2 separate regions of the Homo sapiens genome follow, and region 2 is linked to region 1. Evidence: promoter capture Hi-C in human tissues and cell types (Jung and others, 2019). All regions are on one chromosome and are shown on one strand. The core of a region is centred on a gene start or on the middle of the fragment in contact, and the rest is flanking DNA. Distances in the headings are between cores, read along the strand shown.

What was found. Contacts are between HindIII fragments. The study calls those that stand out against the background at their distance.
Region 2: a contact is called between a fragment that was not itself captured here and the fragment with the promoter of TMEM126A in region 1, in 1 of the 25 tissues and cell types used here (H1 embryonic stem cells).

What each region holds. Positions count from the first base shown.
Region 1 is chr11:85,644,943-85,649,908 of GRCh38, reverse strand. It overlaps TMEM126A (transmembrane protein 126A), which reads right to left and starts at 1,942. Exons shown (of 5, transcript NM_032273.4): 1 at 1,820-1,942. RefSeq lists enhancers at 1,692-1,961, 2,132-2,181. The HindIII fragment of the contact is 9,993 bases long and covers 1-4,966 here.
Region 2 is chr11:86,355,533-86,360,498 of GRCh38, reverse strand. It overlaps LOC105369421 (a long non-coding RNA gene), which reads left to right. Exons shown (of 5, transcript XR_007062826.1): 3 at 172-285. Among named protein-coding and RNA genes, the nearest start is that of CCDC81, 17 kb to the left of the region's middle. RefSeq lists an enhancer at 3,316-3,850. The HindIII fragment of the contact is 4,712 bases long and covers 1-4,550 here.

The sequences.
Region 1 (4,966 bases), core at 693-3,192:
GAACTGACAAAAGAGTAGTTAGTACCCAGAACATACATGGAACTACATATCAACATGAAAAAGGTAAGCAGCCCTACGGAAAAACTGACAAAATATTTGAACAGGCACTTCACAAAAAGGAAAGTTAAATGGCCAATAAACATGAAAATATGCTCACCTTCATTATAACTGGGGGAACAACCCACAGTGAGATACCAATAGGTACCCATAGGTTAGCTAAAATCAAAATCTGACAATTCCAATTATTGGCAAGAATGCGGGGTAGCTAAAACTACATTCTGTGTACATTCTGTGGGGTAGCTTTACCCAAACTGTACAGTCACTTTGGGAAAGAATTTGGTATTATTTAGCAGATAGAAGACACACATAGCTAGCAATTTCATTTCTAGGTATACCTGAGATCAGGGCTCAGCAAACTTTAAAGGGCCAGATGTAAATGTGGTAGGCTTTGCAGGTAACATACAGCCTTTGTTGAATATTTGTTTTTAAAAAAACTATAAAAACATAAAAATCATTCTTAGCTGGGTGGCTGTACCAAGGCAAGCTATAGGCTGCATATGGCCTACATGCCAGTAGTTTGTTGATGTCTGCACTAGTTAGGGTGAAAATGTGAAGGGAATGGTGAATGATGAAGATTTGGCTCAGGTTTCAGGGTAACAGTTAAGAAAAACAAAGGCTGGATGCAGTGGCTCACGCCTGTAATCCCAGCACCTTGGGAGGCCAAGGCAGACGGATCACCTGAGGTCAGGAGTTCGAGACCAGCCTGGCCAACATGGTGAAACTCCCTGTCTTTTAAAAATACAAAAATTAGCCAGGCACGGCGGCAGCTGCCTGTAATCCCAGCTACTCGGGAGGCTGAGGCAGGAGAATCGCTTGAACCTGGGAGGTGGAGGTTGCAGTGTGCCGAGATCTCGCCACTGCACTCCAGCCTGGGTGAGAGCGAGACTCGGTCTACAAAAAAAAAAAAAAAAACAGTTCAGGGATAACAACAAAGGAAAACATGCTTTTATGAAACCAGATTTTCTCATTTCCTACAACATTACAGGCACTCGTTTAAATATTTATTGCTACCTGTTTTATATCGATAAGAGGTCATTTGGAAATGTTGATTACCTTGACATTCCATATCTCTAGACTTAAAGCTAACCTAATAAGTACAAAGCAGCCTTAGAAATTTATGTCTAGGTTTCTGGTAGTCAAATTTTTGAGGGCCTTGGCTACGATAAGATGATAAGACACAATCTCTGCTGTACAGGAGCTCTGAATGATTTTGTGTATGGGGTGGTGAAATATATAATCAAATTTAGTATGTATATATTGTACTGAGGGCAATTAAGTCACTCAATTCAGTATAAGTGCTGACTGGGCAGCCCCTGTGGGCATTTTGTCTCCGATATTAATAACAAATATCTATCAAAGACAACGCCGCCTGTAAAAACTACAAATATTTCGAAAGATTTTTGTGTTACCTATCTCATGTCATTCTTGGAAGAGCTCTGAGAGATAGGCAGTGTGGGGCCTATCTGAAAGAGAAGTAAAGTGGGACCTCTGAAAATCAAATTTGGCCGTGGTCACCTTGTAAATTGACAGTAAACCTGGGATTAAATTCAATCTCAGGCATTTCTCCTTTCTACTGAGTTAATTTAAATATAAGGTCTTTCCTTCTAGAGTGCAAAGTGAAAAGACAGCAGGAAGAGCTAACTACACTTCTACTTGCTCTCATTTACGCGCAGCGCTGCTGGTAGCTAGCGTGTCACCGCGTCGTGCTTCTCCTGACACCGGGACATTTACTTCACCCCCTCCCCCGGAATACCAGTACCTTATGCTCTCCTCCCAGCAGCCTGTGGGTGCCTCCTCCTTCCTCAGCCACGCCGGAGTTCACTGTGGCCTTTGCTCAAATTACCTGGGCGCAGCCATCTTTGGCTGACTCGTGACGCGGCGTGGGCGGGCGCCGGGTCGCGGCTGCTAATTGGACTGCGGGACGGAGGTTGCAGCCAGCAGCGGCTTTGGGCTGAGAAGCTTCCGGCCCTAGGAGGTGCCGGGAGGCTAAGCGTTGAGGTTTGTTTGCCTGGCGTAGAGTGTGCTCGTTTCACCTACTCTTGCCTCCCAGGACAGAACTTGTAGAAATTGTGAAATTTCGAGATATAAGTTGGGTGACCCTCAGTCAGCCTCTTCCATTGAAAACGTACCTCGGGCATATTACTTAACTTCCTGGTCAGTAGAGCCTACTTACGTTCTTGGCATGGGGTAAATGAAAACTGCACAGCTCTTGGCATATGATAGCTACTCAGGTTAAAAATAAGTCAAAGGTGAGCTATTTCTTGGCTCTATCGATTTTCTACTCTCCCTAGGAACTTAAGCTCCCTGTGCCATGTTTTGATCTGTATTGATTGCCCTACCATAATCAGCACCTCAGAGCTGCAGCTTATTTTTCTGAGGATTTCTCGTGTTCTCCAGAGTACTGCTTATTTGGAAGCAGTGTTGGGTGAAAGTCATCTTATTTCTTCTTGCTTTTTAAGTATAAATACTAGAAAATTTAGAATTATATATGTGGCTTGCATTATATTTCTATTGGACAGTGCTGTTCAGAAGGTACCTCTAATGCTCTCCTCCCAGCAGCCAGTGGATGCCTCACCAGGTCTTCCTCAGCCATGCTGGGGCTCCCTGCAACCTTTGCTCAGTTCGCTTGGACTAATTAACCCAATAGAAGGGAAAAATGCCTACAATTGAATTTTATCTTAACTCCATTAAGATTAGCAGGTAAACATTGTGCCAAAAAATATATAACTAACTGTAGCAATAAATACATGATCATAACACATTATCAGAAATCTTAATTATTCTCATCCTCTCAAATTTCTGAACAAGTGATAAAGTGTTGCATTGTCCAGATAATTTTTATACTGTCTCTCCATTGCAGGGTTGCTTGACCATTAGGCTCCATAGTGCCAAGAAGTCTGTAATTGCAGTTTCTAAACTTGCACAAATAGAAAGACTTATTTTCACGAAGGTGTACAAGAAGGAAAATTCCTAGTCTTTTTTTTATTTTTATTTTTTATTTTTTAGACAGAGTTTTGCTCTCGTCGGCCAGGCTGGAGTGCAATGGCCTGATCTCAGCTCATTGCAACTTCTGCCTTCCAGGTTCAAGCGATTCTCCTGCTTCAGCCTCCAGAGTAGCTGGGATTACAGGCGTGTGCCACCACGCCCAGCTGATCAGCTGATTTTTTTTTTTGTTTTTGAGACTGAGTCTCGTTCTGTCACCCAGGCTGGAGTGTAGTGGTGTGATTTCGGCTCACTGCAAGCCCCGCCTCCTGGGTTCACAGCATTCTCCTGCCTCAGCCTCCCAAGTAGCTGGGACTACAGGCTCCTGCCACCACGCCTGGCTAATTTTTTTGTATTTCTAGTAGAGACGGGGTTTCACTGTGTTAGCCGGGATGGTCTCTATCTCCTGACCTCGTGATCCACCCGCCTCGGCCTCCCAAAGTGCTGGGATAACAGGCGTGAGCCACCGTGCCCAGCCTCGGCTTATTTTTTAGTAAAGACAGGATTTCACCACGTTAGCCAGGCTGGTCTCGAACTCCTGACCTCAGGTGATCCACCCGCCTCGGTCTCCCAAAGTGCAGGGATTACAGGCGTGAACCAGCGTGCCTGGTCATCTAGTCTTTTACTCACTTTGCTTTTCATCTCAAGGTTTTAAGCAAACAAATCACAATATTCTGCTTACTACCTTTGCCTTAATGGAATTTCACTAGGCCTTCTCTGTAACTGTCTGTGTTTCCTAATTATGTAGAAACTATAAACCACCATCTTGTAGAGAATAATGGCCAATAAGGTTGAAAAGTTAAAAAAAAAAAAAAAAAAGAGCCAGAGTGTGGAATACTTCAAATGCCAGACTAAGAATTTGCTCCCTTTTGTTTGCTTTATTTTCTGGGAAACGTTAGTTATTAAAAATGGGAGTTAAAAAATTCATAGTTACACTATGATAAGATGCATATGATGTAGAAAAAAATGGAGGCAATACTGCAGATGGAGATTAGATAGGTGCCTCTAAATAAAAATCTCAAGGACATCTCATACTCCAAAGCTGAAAATCGTATATGTTTTCCTCTCTTATATCTACTGTTTCCTGTCTCAGGGCTTGACAACACCATCCATTTCATTGCACAAGCCAGAAACTTAAGTTCATCCACATTACTCCCTGCAGACTAATCAATCGTGAACAATTTATTGATTTTCTTCCTAGATATTCTTTACAGAAATCATTTCTTATTTAGGCACTGGAGGTGACTCTGTTCTCACAGATTCCACTCATCTTCCTTTCAGCAATTCTCTACATAGCATCTATGAAAATTTTTGTCAGACAATTTAGCTGAACTTGGGCTGTGCATGGAAGAGAGGGGATAGAAATGTAGCCAGAAATCTGCAATGTCTATGATGCTTGCACCAGACAACCGTAAGCTCTTTTTGGAAACAGGAAATAAAGAACAATTTGTCAAAGCATATTTTTCTGTCACTAAAAATACATGCCATTCTTTTGATTTTAAAAGTTTTGAGAAATGCCGAAAGAGAAAAGATAATTTAGTTTCTTATAGCTTGTCTGAACTCTCTAACAACAGAATATTGGCACATAAAATAGTTAATAAAAGAAAATGGAATTTGACCACTTGTCACTACCTTTATTGCTACTACTTATTATCTCTTACCTAGACTGTCTATAAAATCCTGTGTCACACAGAAAAATTGCTGGGATATGGCTTTGACTTAAATGCTGCATGAATCTGCTGAAAATAGTTGATCCAGGAAGATTCCATACTTTTCAAAGATAATAATCAAAAAATAAAAGAGGGACTTCTAGCTTCTGGAAGTGACACAGTAGCTTATGTTGGACAGACCCTGTTGCAAATAACAACTATAAACTCTGGACAAGGAAGAGATTCTTTTCAAAGACCCTGGAAAGCAACCAAAA
Region 2 (4,966 bases), core at 945-3,444, 710 kb before region 1:
AATGGCTTGAACCCAGGAGGCGGAGGTTGTGGTGAGCCGAGATCGTGCCATTGCACTCCAGCCTGGGTGACAGAGCTAGATTCCACCTCAAAAGAAAAAAACAGTTCTGGTTGGCATTTGTTTTGTTTTGGCTGCCCTAAGAGCCTCCACATTTCCTTTTGGAATTCACAGATCTACATTGTGTGTAATCTTAGTGGGGCTGCCATTCCTGGTGACTACATTCCATTACCAAAGCCGAAGGAAACAGATCCTTGCCCTCCTTGACTCTGCAGGACCAGGGGCCAGGTATGTGACCCAATATCAGTCATCAGATGCTCTTTCTGGGGCTCAGACTGTTGAGCTGTTGACAGGCAGACAGCAGGAAAATGTGGAAGTTATTTCCACAGGGATGGTATGCACTTTTCACTATCTTGCTTTAAGAAAATTGCCTGGGTTCCTAATGGCCAATCCCCCAGATCCCTCTTGATTCCTGCCCATTTCCAGGTCTGATTGTCCTAGCTCCCATCACTCTGAGCATCCCAACAGTCTTCCAATAATTTCCTTCTGCTTCAGTTAGTCCAAATCAATATCTGTGGCCTTGTCTGCTTACAAGTTTATAAAACCACTAAATATCCAACTAGTGTGGTGGCATAAAAGGAGACTATCCACCCCTCCACCCCATTATCAGAGAATAAACTTGAGGATTAAAGAGAAACATTTAAATCCTAGCTTTAGTTAACCAGGTTGCTTAAGTAGAGCCATGTGCCGTTAATGTGAGGGTCCTTTGAAATGGAAACCAGAAAAAGGAAAGGACAAATGTCAATAGGAAGATTAGATGTTTCTAATGTAGATTAGATTGCAGAGTGATGGAACGAAAATTAATCCTCAATTAATCCTCATAATGGCACATTGATTTGTGGTACTTTAGGGGGAAACCAGCTGCAGCTGGAAAGCACTCAGTGGACTCCCCCTGTTCTTCAGTCTTTACAGAATCTCTCTCCCTGAAGAGACAAATGGAGACAAAAAAGCAGAAAGAATACATGTGTACATCCAGTGGCTATATTAAGCAAGAAAATCTATGAAATGCAAAAGAAACTAGGGGCTGAAACTTTATTCGGAGGGCTAAAGGGTGGTTTGTGTAAAAGAAACGGAGAATTGCTCCTGAGATAGCCTGTCATCTGATGGCTTATGAGGTGAGGTTCTGCCTTCCTCTTGCTTAGAGGTGGGGAGAGACTAGACCAAAAGCTGAATGCCTGATCTCTGCCTATGGACTCCAAGTGACTCAGGAATGTTCACTTGACTCTTTAGTAAAGAACAGCTTGAAGCTCTATAAAGGTCTAGTTTGTACACAGAGAAAACAACCTATTTGGATCAGGGAAGCAGAACCCCACTCCATATGGCTGCTGACTGGCCTCCCCCTCACTGTGGCTCACTATAGAGGAGAAGTGTCAGTAGCTGGAGAGATTGTAAGGCTGATTCCCTTTCTGACTCCCTGGGATATCCCTTTCTCAGAAATACAGAGAAACTGTCAACGAAAGAGTTGACACTAGAAAATAAGTAGGGCATACCCAAGGGCATACTCAGTCACTGTGTCAGAGGCGTTTGAACCAGAGTGACTCCATTTTGAGTGAGGGCTAGGAAAATAAGACTGGGACTTGCTGGGCTGCATTCTCAGAAAATGAGGCATTCCTAGCCTCTAAATGTTTACGGTTAAGGGAACAAATTAATAATGTTTCCTAAACAGACCCAGACTTGGGAGTGTCCAGATATCCTGATATCTGGAGAAGAAAGGCATTCCTGATTTTGCTTTAAAGATAATAGTATCAATTCTTGCAAAATATAGTAATTAAGAAAATTAATCCTTTATCACAAACCCTTGTAGCAGAGCACATCTCCCCGTATATACAAGCATTGTACCTAGGGTGGACGCATTCCTCTTCTGACTTTCAGGAACGTCCTACTCTTATCAATGGAGTAGCTGTTCTTTCACCACTTTATTTTCTTAATAAACTTGCTTTTACTTTGCACTGTGGACTCGCCCTGAATTCTTTCTTGCATGATATCCAAGAACCCTCTCTTGGGGTCTGGATTGGGACCCCTCTCCTGTAACAACTGGTCCTCACTTCAATGCTTTATTGGACTGCTTTTGTTATTTGAGGCTTGAGGGTGTTAGCAAAAAAAAAGTCCAACTCTGTGAAATATTTGACGTGGTTTATTCTAAGCCAAATATGAGTGTCATGGCCTGTGACACAGCCTCAGGAGGTCCTGAGAACATGTGCCCAAGGTGGTTGGATTATAGCTTGGTTTTATACATTTTAGAGAGACAGAAGTTATAGGCAAAGACATAAATCAATACATGTAAGGTATAAAAGGCAGGATATCTTGAAGCAGAGAGTGGGGGATGTGGGTGGAGGAGTTCTTCCAGGTCATAGATGCATTCAAAGATTTTCTGATTGACGATTAAAAGGATTAAGCTTTGCTTGAGAAATGGAAGTCGACATAAAGAAATGCTTAAGATAAGGGGGGTTGTGGAAGCCAAGGTTCTTTTTATTTTATTTATTTATTTATTTATTTATTTTGAGACAAAGTCTCTCTCTGTTGCCCAAGCTGGCATGCAGTGGTGCAATCTCGGCTCACTGTAACCTCCGCCTCCCAGGTTCAAGCGATTCTCCTGCCTCAGCCTCCCAAGTAGCTGGAACTACAGGCACACACCACCATGCCTGGCTAATTTTTGTATTTTTTAGTAGAGACAGGGTTTCACTATGTTGGCCAGGCTGGTCTTGAGCTCCTGACCTCGTGATCAACCTGCTTTGGCCTCCCAAAGTGCTGGGATTACAAGCACGAGCTACCTCACCACCTGGAAGCCAAGGTTCTTGTTATGTAGATGAAGCCTGTAAGTAACAGGCTTCTGGGAGAATAGATAATAAATGTCTGTCAGACCTTAAAAGGTATTAAATCTCTCCTGGATTAGGAAAAGACTTGTAAAGAGAAGGGGATTCTCTAAAGAATGCAAATTTCCCCCACAGGAGACAGCTTTGCAGGGCCATTCCAAAATACGTCAAAGAAATATATTTTGGGATAAAATACTTTGATTTCCTTTAGGGCCGCTGTCATGTGATGTTATACCAGAGTCAGGCTGGAGTTGGGTATCTTATTACTAACAACAGTCTGTTTTATCAATCTTATGATTTCTGTTTTAATGTTAATGCTGGTCAGTTGTGCCTTAACTCCAAAGGGAGGAGGGCATAACAAAGCATGTCTGGCCTCAACCTCCACTTCCCATCATGGCCTTAACAAGTTTTTTATTTGGGATCCCCTTGGCCAAAAGGAGTCCATTCAGTAAGCTGAGTGGCTTAGAATTTTATTTTTGGTTTACAAGGGTATTATTACAGGAAAGGGGTCTGGATCCAGACCCCAAGAGAGGGTTCTTGGATCTCCCACAAGAAAGAATTCAAGGCGAGCCCATAAAGTGAAAGCAAGTTTATGAGGAAAGTAAAGGAATAAAAGAATCTCTGCTCCACAGACAGAGCAGCCCTGAGGGCTGCTGGTTGCCCATTTTTATGGTTATTTCTTGATGATATGCTAAACAAGGGGTGGATTATCCATGCCTCCCATTTTTAGACCATATATGGTAACTTCCTGATGTTGCCATGGCATGACATTGTCATGGTACTGGTGGGATTGCAGCAGTGAGGACAACCAGAGGTGACTCTCATTGCCATCTTGGTTTTGGTGGGTTTTAGCAAGCTTCTTTAGTGCAACCTATTTTATCAGCAAGGTCTTTATGACCTGTATCTTGTGCTGACCTCCTATCTCATCCTGGGACTAAGAATGCCTTAACCATCTGGGAATGCAGCCCCACTTTGCCTAGTTCCTATTTAAGATGGAGTTGCTGTGGTTCACATGCCTCTGACAGCATCAAACATTTGTTGGGACTGAACCTCAGTGCTCAATTAGGTATTTGATGAAGTTCTTGAAAAGAGGAGATTAAAGAAAAAACCTACAGAACTAAAACTGGTAATGGATTCTCTGGGTCAGGCTCTAACAAAATAATCAGTTGTGGCCAGGCACAGTGGCTCATGCCTGTAATCCCAGCACTTTGGGAGGCTGAGGCAAGTGGATCACTTAAGGTCAGGAGTTTGAGACCAGCCTGGCCAACATGTTGAAACCCTGTCTCTACTAATACAACAAAAATTAGTTGGGCGTGGTAGCACACACCTGTAATCCCAGCTACTTGGGAGGCTGAGGCAGGAGAATCCCTTGAACCTGGGAGGCGGAAGTTGCAGTGAGCTGAGATTGCATGACTGCACTCCAGCCTGGACAACAGAGCAAGACCCCATCTCAAAAACAAACAAATAATCAGTTGTGACAAAATAGTCAGTTGTCATTTGGGCTTGTCATTATTGAGAATAATCATTATCACATAAGCAAACCATTTTGTTACAGTGACGAATCCATACAGGTCTGCAGCAACCTCAGCTCTTGCCTCCTCAGAAGAAAGAATTTGACTGAGGGGCATGAAGTAGAAGGAGAAACCAAGGCAAGTTTTAGAGCAGGAGTGGAAGCTTATTACAAAGCTTTAGAGCAAGAACAAAAGAAAGGAAAGTACACTTGGCAGAGGGCCAAATGGGCAACTTGAAGGAAGGACCTTTTGACTTGGGGTTTTATATGCTGGCATACGTTCAGGGTCTTGCATCCCCTCTCCCCTGATTCTTCCCTTGGGGTGGGTTGCCTGCATACACAGTGGCCTGCCAGCACTTGGGAGGTGAGAATGCGCAGTGTGCATATTGGAGCTGTATGCATGCTCACCTGAGGCTTTCTTCCCTTTACTGATGGAATGCCCCCAGAAGGTCATATACCAGTTAAACCCTGCCATTTCACCTCTCAGTGCACATACTTGAGCCCGTTTGCCCAACTCCTGAGATCCTACTGGGAAGCTACTGATCACCATTTTCAGTTTTTTTCTATCTATAGGGAGACTGACTTT